Regions from separate parts of the Homo sapiens genome. Here region 1 is linked to region 2. Evidence: promoter capture Hi-C in human tissues and cell types (Jung and others, 2019). All regions are on one chromosome and are shown on one strand. Each heading gives the region's core, a stretch centred on a gene start or on the middle of the fragment in contact. The rest is flanking DNA. Distances are from core to core; before and after follow the strand shown. Region 1 overlaps DMRTB1 (DMRT like family B with proline rich C-terminal 1). Region 2 holds the start of NDC1 (NDC1 transmembrane nucleoporin).

The links. Contacts are between HindIII fragments. The study calls those that stand out against the background at their distance.
Region 1: a contact is called between a fragment that was not itself captured here and the fragment with the promoter of NDC1 in region 2, in 1 of the 25 tissues and cell types used here (IMR-90 fibroblasts).

The regions. Positions count from the first base shown.
Region 1 is chr1:53,463,026-53,467,987 of GRCh38, forward strand. It overlaps DMRTB1 (DMRT like family B with proline rich C-terminal 1), which reads left to right. Exons shown (of 4, transcript NM_033067.3): 3 at 1,612-1,822; 4 at 3,570-4,463. The coding sequence ends at 3,637. Among named protein-coding and RNA genes, the nearest start is that of DMRTB1, 6.1 kb to the left of the region's middle. RefSeq lists an enhancer at 1-408. The HindIII fragment of the contact is 7,613 bases long and covers 1-4,962 here.
Region 2 is chr1:53,835,604-53,840,397 of GRCh38, forward strand. It overlaps NDC1 (NDC1 transmembrane nucleoporin), which reads right to left and starts at 2,693. Exons shown (of 18, transcript NM_018087.5): 1 at 2,602-2,693; 2 at 1-17. The coding sequence starts at 2,658. RefSeq lists a silencer at 2,447-2,576 and an enhancer at 2,687-3,166. The HindIII fragment of the contact is 21,020 bases long and covers 1-4,794 here.

The sequences.
Region 1 (4,962 bases), core at 1,446-3,945, 370 kb before region 2:
ATCTCAGTCGGTTTATCTGGGCCTGAGCTGCCACCACAGGCCCCAGGCAGGAGCTGTGATCCAGGGAGATGCTTGGCTGAGAAGCTTGGAATTAAAGCACTAATAATCCCTCTTCCACCCTCTCAAGTCTGGAGAGAGAATCAGGCATTGATTTGTGAGCTGTTTCAAACCCAAGAGCCCCTGAATCACTTTCATCCTTGTCCTGCTGCCCCCTGCCAAGGCTTGGAGGTGCTCTCCAGAACAGTTTCCTCCTTCCTGTTCCTGTCCCTGCCCACCTGCTGCTGCTTGGCTTCCTCTGCCCTCCTGTTCACAGGACAGCACTGGCCCTGGAGGTGGGCAGACCTAGGGTCCAATTCTGCCTCCCCCGTCGTGTCCCAGCCACGTGACCCGTGGCAGTTATCTGACCTCTGAGGACCTCACTCGGGTCTTGGTCTGTAAAATGGGAGTGAGAGGACCTATCTATTAGGGCTCCTGAGAATAGATAAGGCGATGCATGTAAAATACCTAGCACAGGGTCTGGCACATAGTAGGTACTTAAAAGTGAGATTTCTTCCCTTCCTGCTGGTTGAACGAAGTTAGGAAGTGCTGGGTTAATCTAAGGAGATTTTTGCAGACTCTTCCAAGCCTTTAATATGCTCATGTGTGACCCACTAATGTGGGGAGCAGTATATGGGGTTTCTCAAACTCACTTAACAAAGAACACTTTTAAGAGTACTAAAAAATACTTTGTAGGACACCAGGACTCCATGAAACTCAGCTCAGGATGTGTTGCTCTGAAGCATCTGGATAGAGAAGTGAATGACAGGAACTACATCCAAAACTCAGTATTATTTCTTACGACATTTGTGTGTTTCTTGGTTAAGCTCTGAGTTGTGCAGTCATCCCCTCTCCAGATCCTCTGATGGGGCCCTGTGCTGTGGTAAGGGGTTGGATTCCATCCCTTGAAGAAGGGACAGAAGCAGCAAAATGTTCATCAGTGAGGCCACTTGCCTGAAGTCACCCAGTGTATCTTGCCTCAGAAACAGCTGCGCTACACCCACATTGCCAACCTCTTCTCCCAAAGGCCCCCCTGGCACTTGAGTTTAAGTCACCACATGTGCCAGACAGGGGGTCCTGTGGGGTTGGGATGCGTTCAGACCCTTCCCCAGTGCAGAGCAGCGCTGGACAGAAGTCAGCTGAGTGGGCTATGGAGTCAGCCAACTTGGGATCCAGTTCTGCCCCTTAACCACAAAGCAGCTCTGCGGCCCTGGGCCTGTAGCTTCATCTCACTGAACCTGTTTTTCATAATTACAGCAAGAATAGTAATAGAACCCACCGCCTAGGATTCTGAGCACCCAAGCACAATCGCCCTGGCATATACAGAAGGGCTCTGTCACTGTGACCGTTCAGCTGTTCCCATGCTTATCTGAGGTTGCCTGTGTTCCTTCTTGCCTTCAATAATTTGGCAGGTGTTTGCTGAATGCCCCCTTCCAAATGCCCTGTGCCTGTGTGTTTGGGGCCGTGCATCTACCCCATCAGGAGCCCCCCACTTCAGGGGTGAGAGCTATGTTTGGTCAGCCCATCTGGCTAACTCTCTCTCCTCTCCGCCTCTCTGCTGTGTGTGCCGTGCAGGTGTCAGAACCAGGAGGAGACTTCCAGCCAAGCTACTACCTGCCGCCGCCGCCGCCGCCACTGCCGCCCCTTCCACCGCTTCCACCGCAGCCCCAGTTCCTCCCGCCAGGCTACCTCTCTGCGCTCCACTTCCTCCCCCCGCCACCGCCACCACCACCTCCATCATCTTTCTCACTGACCGTCCTGTTTGATACTGACAAGGAGAACACTGGTGAGTGAGCTCCAGTCTTCCAGCTTCAGCGAGAGCCAGGGAGACTTTCTGGAGGAAGAGGTACCTAATCTGAAGAAAGGTTAGGTGTGGAGAGAAGGGACATGGAATTTAAAGGGTGTTGAGCCCTAGAATGAGCTCCTTCTTACACCCTTCCTCCAGTCCCCATAGGCACACATCTAAGGGAGGTGGGAATGGGATTCCAGGTGAGGAAACCAGGGCCTCCAGCAGTTCTCTTGGGTATAAATGGCAGAGCTGGGATTTGAACAGAGTTTTTCAGTCTAGCTCCCAGTCTAGTGCCTGTTCACTCACCTTATTGGCTCGTGGGCGGTGCTGTGGAAGACAGCAGGCATATGGTGTGTTTGGAAGACCAGAGGTGCCAGGCCTCTCTAGCTGGGGTAGGGGAGCAGATGGAGAGACTGGAGCAGCAGCAGGAACCCGTGTGGTGGGGCTGTGCCTCTGCCCCAGGCCACTCTGAGGGAACCAGACCAGGAGCTAGAGAATCTGTCCTTCACAAGCTCTGCCACTGGGGCACTGGATGATCCTGGGCACTGAGGCTTTTCAACTATAAAAGGGGCCCCCTTACTAGGTTACTGTGAGGGTCGAAGAAACTTTTGGATGTGAAAATGTTTTGGGTTTTCTTTTGAGGGCCCTTGCAGCTTTAAAGCTTCTAGGACATTTTTCCTTTCAGTCTTCCCCTGGGGCTCCTATGATTTGGAAAGAACTGACAAACTCAACTAGGCCTTTAAAATGACTGTCAGACCATCTTATGAGCTAGAGGAGTCTGGTGGTATCACCATTTTACTGAAGAGGAAACTGAGGCCTGTTGCACACTTCCTGTGTGTGCAGTGCCTAGATCCAGTAGCTGGAGAGGTGGTTTCATGTGGCTGAAAACCACTGGCCCCAGTGCTGGGTGGCCTGGGTGTGAGTCCTGGCTCCAGCACTTGCCCAGCTGTGTAACTTGAGCAAGCTCATTTACTCTTTGGTGCTCCAGTTTCATCATGTGTAAAAGGAGACTAATAATGGTCCCTACCTCATGAGGATTCTGAGGATTAAACAGAACCTGAAGTGATGAAGGCATTGGTGAAGGTGGCCTATCACTGTCTGTTTCACTTAGTGCCCATGCTGCCATTGCAAGGTGGATACGTCTCATTTTACAGAAGGGGAAGCTGAGGTTCAGAGCTGTGGAGTATCTTGCTAATTCCTCCCAGCTTGTGACGAGCAGAGCAAGAGCTGGAACTTGAATCTGAATCACATGGCCAAGGCTAGGATTCCAGGCTCCTGGCGCCTAACAAGTTAAAGAAAATACATTCTCCCCTAGGGCTGGGAATGATGAGAAAGGCTTATGGAAAATCTGTATCTGGGCTGGGCACAGTGACTCACACCTGTGATCCCAGCACTTTGGGGAGGGTGAGGTGGGTGGATCACCTGAGGTCAGGAGTTCAAGACCAGCCTGGCCAACATGGGGCAACCCTGTCTCTACTAAAAATACAAAAATTAACTGGGCATGTTGGCGGGTGCCTGTAATCCCAGCTACTCAGGAGGCCGAGGCAGGAGAATTGCTTGAACCTGGGAGGTGGAGGTTGCGGTGAGCTGAGATTACACCACTGCACTCCAGCCTGGGTGACAGAGCGAGACTCTGTCTCAAAAAAATTAAAATAAAATAAGAAAAAAGAAAATCTTCATCTGCAAATAGGTAGTTGTAATTTTCGCTCTTTCTAAATCCAGCTACCTTCTTTGTCCTTCACAGATGACCAGGATGCAGAGGTACTGTCGGGTGAGCCCAGCCAGCCATCGTCTCAGGAGCAGTCCGACTAGGCCCCAGGCCCGCCCTCCTGGCCAGCAGAGTGGGGCACTGGGGGGCAACAGCAACAGTTTTCTTGTCTTCATTCAGTGATATGTAGGGAGGAAGGAGGTTGATAGCATAGATGGCAACTGATTCCCAGTTTAAGATAGGAGGAAGGAGAGCAATTTCTAAGTTTCAATCCTGCGCTGTACAGTTGAAGAAGAGTGTGGAGGAAGCTATTACCAGGGGAGGGCCAGGGCTCTGAGGAGTGGGCGCTGGGAGAAGCTCCCATTTAGGAATGAATTTAACTGTCCTTGGGTTACACTACCATTTATTGGAACAAGCCCCAGAGGCAGTATTTGATTTCCTCAGGCCCCACTCTAGGACAGGAGGCACCATCTATTTCAGCCTTCTGCTGCCTTTGCCTGGTCCTCCAGGTTGCTGGGGGCACCACAGACATCAAGATTCCAGTTCATCCAGGTGGCTGGAGCCAGCAGCCAGGACCAGGGTCGTTGACAGCAGGTTCTGCAGCATCCTGCCTTGCTGCTCTGTCCCCCACATCTTCCTGGCCACAGCCCCTTGCCCCTCCTCTAAGGGGTTTTACTAGCAAGCATCCTGGCTGCTGGGGCTACTTCATTCCCCCTCCATAAAGTTTCAGCCATTATGGGCACTGGTTTTAAAAAATTTATTAGTTTGACTATTTGATGTTTTTATAGTGATTGCCAACTTTAAAAAGTAGGCTGTTCATAAGCACTGATGCAGTCCCTAGGGAATAGAATGGTGCTTCTGATCACCTGTGACATGAACAGTTTCTTCTGTGAGGACAGTTGGCTATTGAAATAAAATGAGCAATGGAAATCCTTGTGGAAGGCTTATTCTCCCTTTGATCCTGGTGGAAGGTAGGGTTGGCAGGAGCCTGAGTTGGGGAGATTGGGGGCCTTGGTTTGTGGCCTGTGGCTGGCCTTGTCTGCACTTGCTTAGTTCCTATTTTTAGTTCCTGCCCTCCCTGTTCTACCTCCCCTTTCTTTATCAAGTGAGGGGATTGGGCCAGGCTAGTAGACTTCTTTATTATTACTGTTGTTATTTTAAGCAATGGAGACCTTTTAAGGAAATCTGATGTAGACACACAAAATGTAAAGATGTCTTAGTTTCCTTCCTCCAGCTCCTTCCATAGTCCCTGCATAGGAACATGCATTTAAAAAAACAGAACTTGAACCAATTCTGTTTTAGGGTCCTCGGCTTCTTCCATTGGTTGCATTTATACCTTCATTTAGAAAACATCCTGTGTTTCTACTAGATTCAGAACTTGACAGTTCCCAGCTCTGCCCATGAGGAACATGACATCTAGTGGGAGAGA
Region 2 (4,794 bases), core at 1,443-3,942:
ATCCTCCAGCCCAAAACCTATAAACAAAAAGAAAAACCCTCACTCATGAAGTCAGTTAAATTATTTCAGTTATGCAAATCCTATCTTTTCATACAGGATGTTAACCACTAACTCAGATCATAATCCGTAACTCAAACATTCACTACTAGTAATAACATTACGTACCACTAAAGAATTTATAGTATCAGTGAGCTGATGCCTGCATTAGTACAAAGTTAGGTGCAACATCAAATATCATACTTTGTATGAGGGGTGGTGGGCATTGATTTACAGCTGTTTTAGAGCAACTAATACTTGTCTCTCTAGGCTTAATTGATAGCTATATTAATATATAAAGGCTGTACACATTTTATGGGAACCACCTGTATACTGTAACTGTATTTATAATCATCAGATATGAACCTTTACTGGGCAACTACGGCACTGTAGCATTCTATTCATGTTTGAATTGCCCGTATCTATCATATAGGAGGAAAATATTTACTGCTGAATAATACAAGAAGATATAGAGGGGTTTTAAGCATGAAAGTGACAATCAAATTCATGTTGCTCAAGGTAAAACATGTCTGTTTACTGAAAGCTGGCTTTAAGGAAGATGGAGGAGTTGGGACACGAACCAAACCAGAGACAATGCAGTTAGGAGGCAGTCCACCAAAAAGCTGAGGCCGGGCGTGGTGGCTCACATCTGTATCCCAGCACTTTGGGAGGCCAGGGTGGGCGGATCACTTGAGGCCAGGAGTTTGAGACCAGCCTGGCCAACATGGTAAAACCCTGTCTCTATAAAAAATTTTTTAAAAATTAGCCAGGCATCATTCCAGCCCGGGCAACAGAGCAAGACTCTGTCTAACAAAAAAAAAAAAAAAAAAGAATAAAGTTGAACTCCTATCCCACATTCTTTTTGATGTTGTGATTTTGAGACAGCTCGCTCTGTCCCCCAGGCTAGATGCAACAGTGCCATCTCAGCTCACTGCAACCTCCTCCTCCCGGGTTCAAGTGATTCTCCTGCCTCAGCCACCTGAGTAGCTGGGGTTACAGGTGCCCGCCACCACACCTGACTAATTTTTTTTTCAGTAGAGATGGGGTCTCGAACTCCTGACCCCAAGTGATCCTCCCACCTCAGCCTCCCAAAGTGTTAAGATTACAGGCGTGAGCCACAGCGCCCAGCCTCCTATCCCACATTCTATACAAAAATTAACTCAAAATGGATTAAAGACCTACATGTAAGAGCTAAAACTATAAAACTCTTGGAAGAAAACATAGGAGTAAACCTTCATGATCTTGGATTTGGCAATGGTTTCTTAGATATGACACCAAAAGCATAAGCAACAAAAGAAAAATATAGATAAATTGGACATCAGCAATATTTAAAACTTTTTTGCTTCAGAAGACACTGTCAGCCAAGTGCGGTGGCTCACAAGTGCCAAAGGTGGCAACAACCCAAATACCCACATACTGATGAATGGATAAACAAAATATGTGGTATGTCCATACAGTGGATTATTCAGCCACAAAAAGGAATGAAGTACTCATGCATGCTAAACATACACCAGGCACGATGGCATGCACCTGATGTCCCAAATAGTTAGGCGGCTGAGGCAGGAGGACTAGTTGAGCCCAGGAGCTCAAGACCAGGCTGGAGAAGATATCGTATCTCTATTATAAAAATAATTTTTAAAAAAATTTTAGAGGCCAGGCACGGTGGCTCACGCCTGTAATCTCAGCACTTTGGGAGACCGAGGCGGATGACTCACTTGAGGTCAGGAGTTCAAGACCGGCCTGACCAACATGGTGAAACCCCATCTCTACTAAAAATACAAAAATTAGCTGGGCGTAGTGGTGCGTATCTATAATCCCCGCTCCTCGGGAAGCTGAGGCAGAACTCCTTGAACCCTGGAGGCGGGGGTTGCAGTGAGCCGACAACGCGCCATTGCACTGCAGCCTGGGCAACAGGGAGCGAGCCTCCGGCTCAAAAAAAAAAAAAGATAAGACTTACGGACCCAAAAGTTTTTAGTTTGGAATACAGGGGAGATGGCAGTGCACTGGGATAGAAGCACTTTTCCAAAAGGGATCTTTCTCCTCTTTCTCTTTGCACTCCAGAGAAGCGATGTAGTACTGTTAATTCCGTAACTTTAAGGAGGAAGTACTATTCCACTCAGCTCAGTCCCATTCTACCTTACAAAGAACACCTGCCCTGCTTACTGGACCCTAACCCCAGCCTCTACTAATGCCACATTTCTTTCCAATTCCGTGCATTCCTTCCCACTTCTTAACGAAACAAATTAAGTTATTTATTTTGCACCTACTGGATACGGTACCCTTGCGTAAAACTCCGCCTCACTCCCTATTCCAATTTCCATTCAGTCCATCCGTCCCACTCTGACCAGCTTCCTTCCACTCAGGACCCCTCTCCTACCCCGTAACCAACTTCCACTCAGGACTTCCCACAACCCTGCAATCAGTCCCCCAAGTGGTGCCTTCCCCACGCGTTCTCTCCACGCTGCCCCGGGACCGGCCCTCCCCCGCCCAGCGCGCACGCGCGATCAGAGCTTGCCCGCCCGGCCCGACCCTGGCAGTGCGTGCCACAGTGCACGCCGCACTCACGCGCCACAGTATGTCCCGCGACCTGCCGGCGCAGGGCCGGCTCACGGCCGTGGCCATGGAGATGGCGGCCCCTAGTCTAGGGCGTACAGGAGACCGTGCGCCCGCCCGCCACCGCAGTTCAAAGGCAGGAAGGCCCCAGGAGGACCCTGCTGGGTCTGCCTCAAACGCTGCCTGAGCGAAGCCCGGCCCAGGCTCCAACCCATCCCTGCGAGGCTTCGTCTGGACAAGCTCAACAGGCCAGGACTGCCGCGCAGACACGTCCCGCAAACGCGGCTGTAACTCCAGGAACCGCCCTCTGGCGACCAAACGGTCCCTTCGAAGCAGGGTCCAGCGGGGCGCCAGAAGCAGGTGGCGGCGCTGCATGCTGGGAACTGTAGTCTCGACGGCCCCCTGAGAGGAAGTAGGAGGAATGTTGCATTCTGGGACTCGGAGTTCCAAAGTACAGAATGCTGGGAGTCAAGGTCTTCCTGGAGGTGCCTTGAGGCATGCTGGGAATAGTAGTCTTTTATAAAGCCGATAACAGCCACAGTATTGATTGACTGGAATTCTTCAGTTAGAGCTAGCAAAATGATCTGCCCTCATTTCTCCCTATTACTTTATAAGTCACCTAAAAGTGAAACCAAAGGATGTGGTGGTCTTCTCCACAATAGGTACGCAGTAATTTTACTGAAATAAAAAAAAAATTCTCTAGAGATGCCTTTGGTTTCATAAAATCTGGTTTCTACTTCCAGATCTGCCACTTGCTAAATTGAATATTTTTATCTTCTCTGAGCCTCCATTTCTTCAACAGTAAGATAAGGATGAAAATAAAAATATCCTGGTGATGTTGTGAGGATGTAAATAATATGCTATACAAATGTTATCATTAATATACTGCCAGTAAGAAAAAAGGTGTTTCACCAACCCAAGTTTCACCTAATGAAGTCTTCTCAGTGCTTTAGACCTCAGTGAGATCTCTGGATGCATATCGCTAACGCCTTTTTATGCTCAATCACATGCCACAGTCAACATGCAATACTCAAGACAGAAATAGATTCAGTGATTTACTGACTAAGGAAATGCATAGGCTGGTGAGAGGAATTGAGATCACACCTACTGCTCTGCAACGTTTGCTAACAATGGCTTCCTGAATGCTTTAAGATTATATCCTATTCACTTCCAAAATCATGTTACTATCAATCATGTCTAAAGCACTGTAGGACAAACTGGGAATACAACTGATAGATCAAGTCTCTGCCGTGAAGAGATCTATCCGGTGGTGGAGAAAACTTGTAAAGAATTAGTCCAGGCCAGGCACAGTGGCTCACACCTGTAATCCCAGCACTTTGGGAGGCCAAGGCAGGAGGATCACAAGCCAGGAGTTTGAGACCAGCCTGGGCAACATAGTGAGACCTCATCTCCACAAAAACAACAACAACAACAACAACAAACTTTTTTTTAAATTAGCCGGGTGTAGTGGTGCACACCTGTAGTCCAAGCTACTCCATAGACTGAGGCAGGAGAATTGCTTGAACCTGGGAGGTTCAGGCTGAAGTGAGCAGTGATGGCGCCATCACACTCCAGACTGGGCCATAGAGTGAGACCCTGTCCAAAAAAAAAAAAAATCAGTCCAAATGCGTGTTCATAAAGACACCTCAGGTTCTAAGGTTCTTGTGGTAGAGACTACTCGTTGTCTGCCTCAATATCTATTCTCCCCTTCTTTCATAATAATTGAACTCCCAGTTTTTTAACTGGGCATATAGTTATATTTCCCAGCCTCTTTTGCAGCTAGGTATGGCCAGCTGACTGAGTTCAGGCCAATAAAATATAATCAAAGTATTGCATGGTAGCTTCCTAGAAACCCCCTTAAAAGGGAGCTACTGCATGATGGTCTTTGCCTCTTCTTAATCCCATCCTCCATTCAGCTGCCTGGATTTGGGATGTGTTGGCTGCAGCTCTAGCACCATACTGGACCACAGAAAGGGGGTCACACTGTAGGGAAAATGAAGTACTGAGCCTAAAGGAGACTTGATTATTTATGGCAACCATATCAGTTCTAGGCTACCTGCCTTTACCTCCTAATTTCATTTACACAAGAGAGACAATTATTTATTGTTTAAGCCACATCTATTTTTTTTTTTTTTTGAGACAGAGTCTCACTCCTTTGCCCAGGCTGGAGTGCAGTGGCATGATCTCAGCTCACTGCAACCTCCG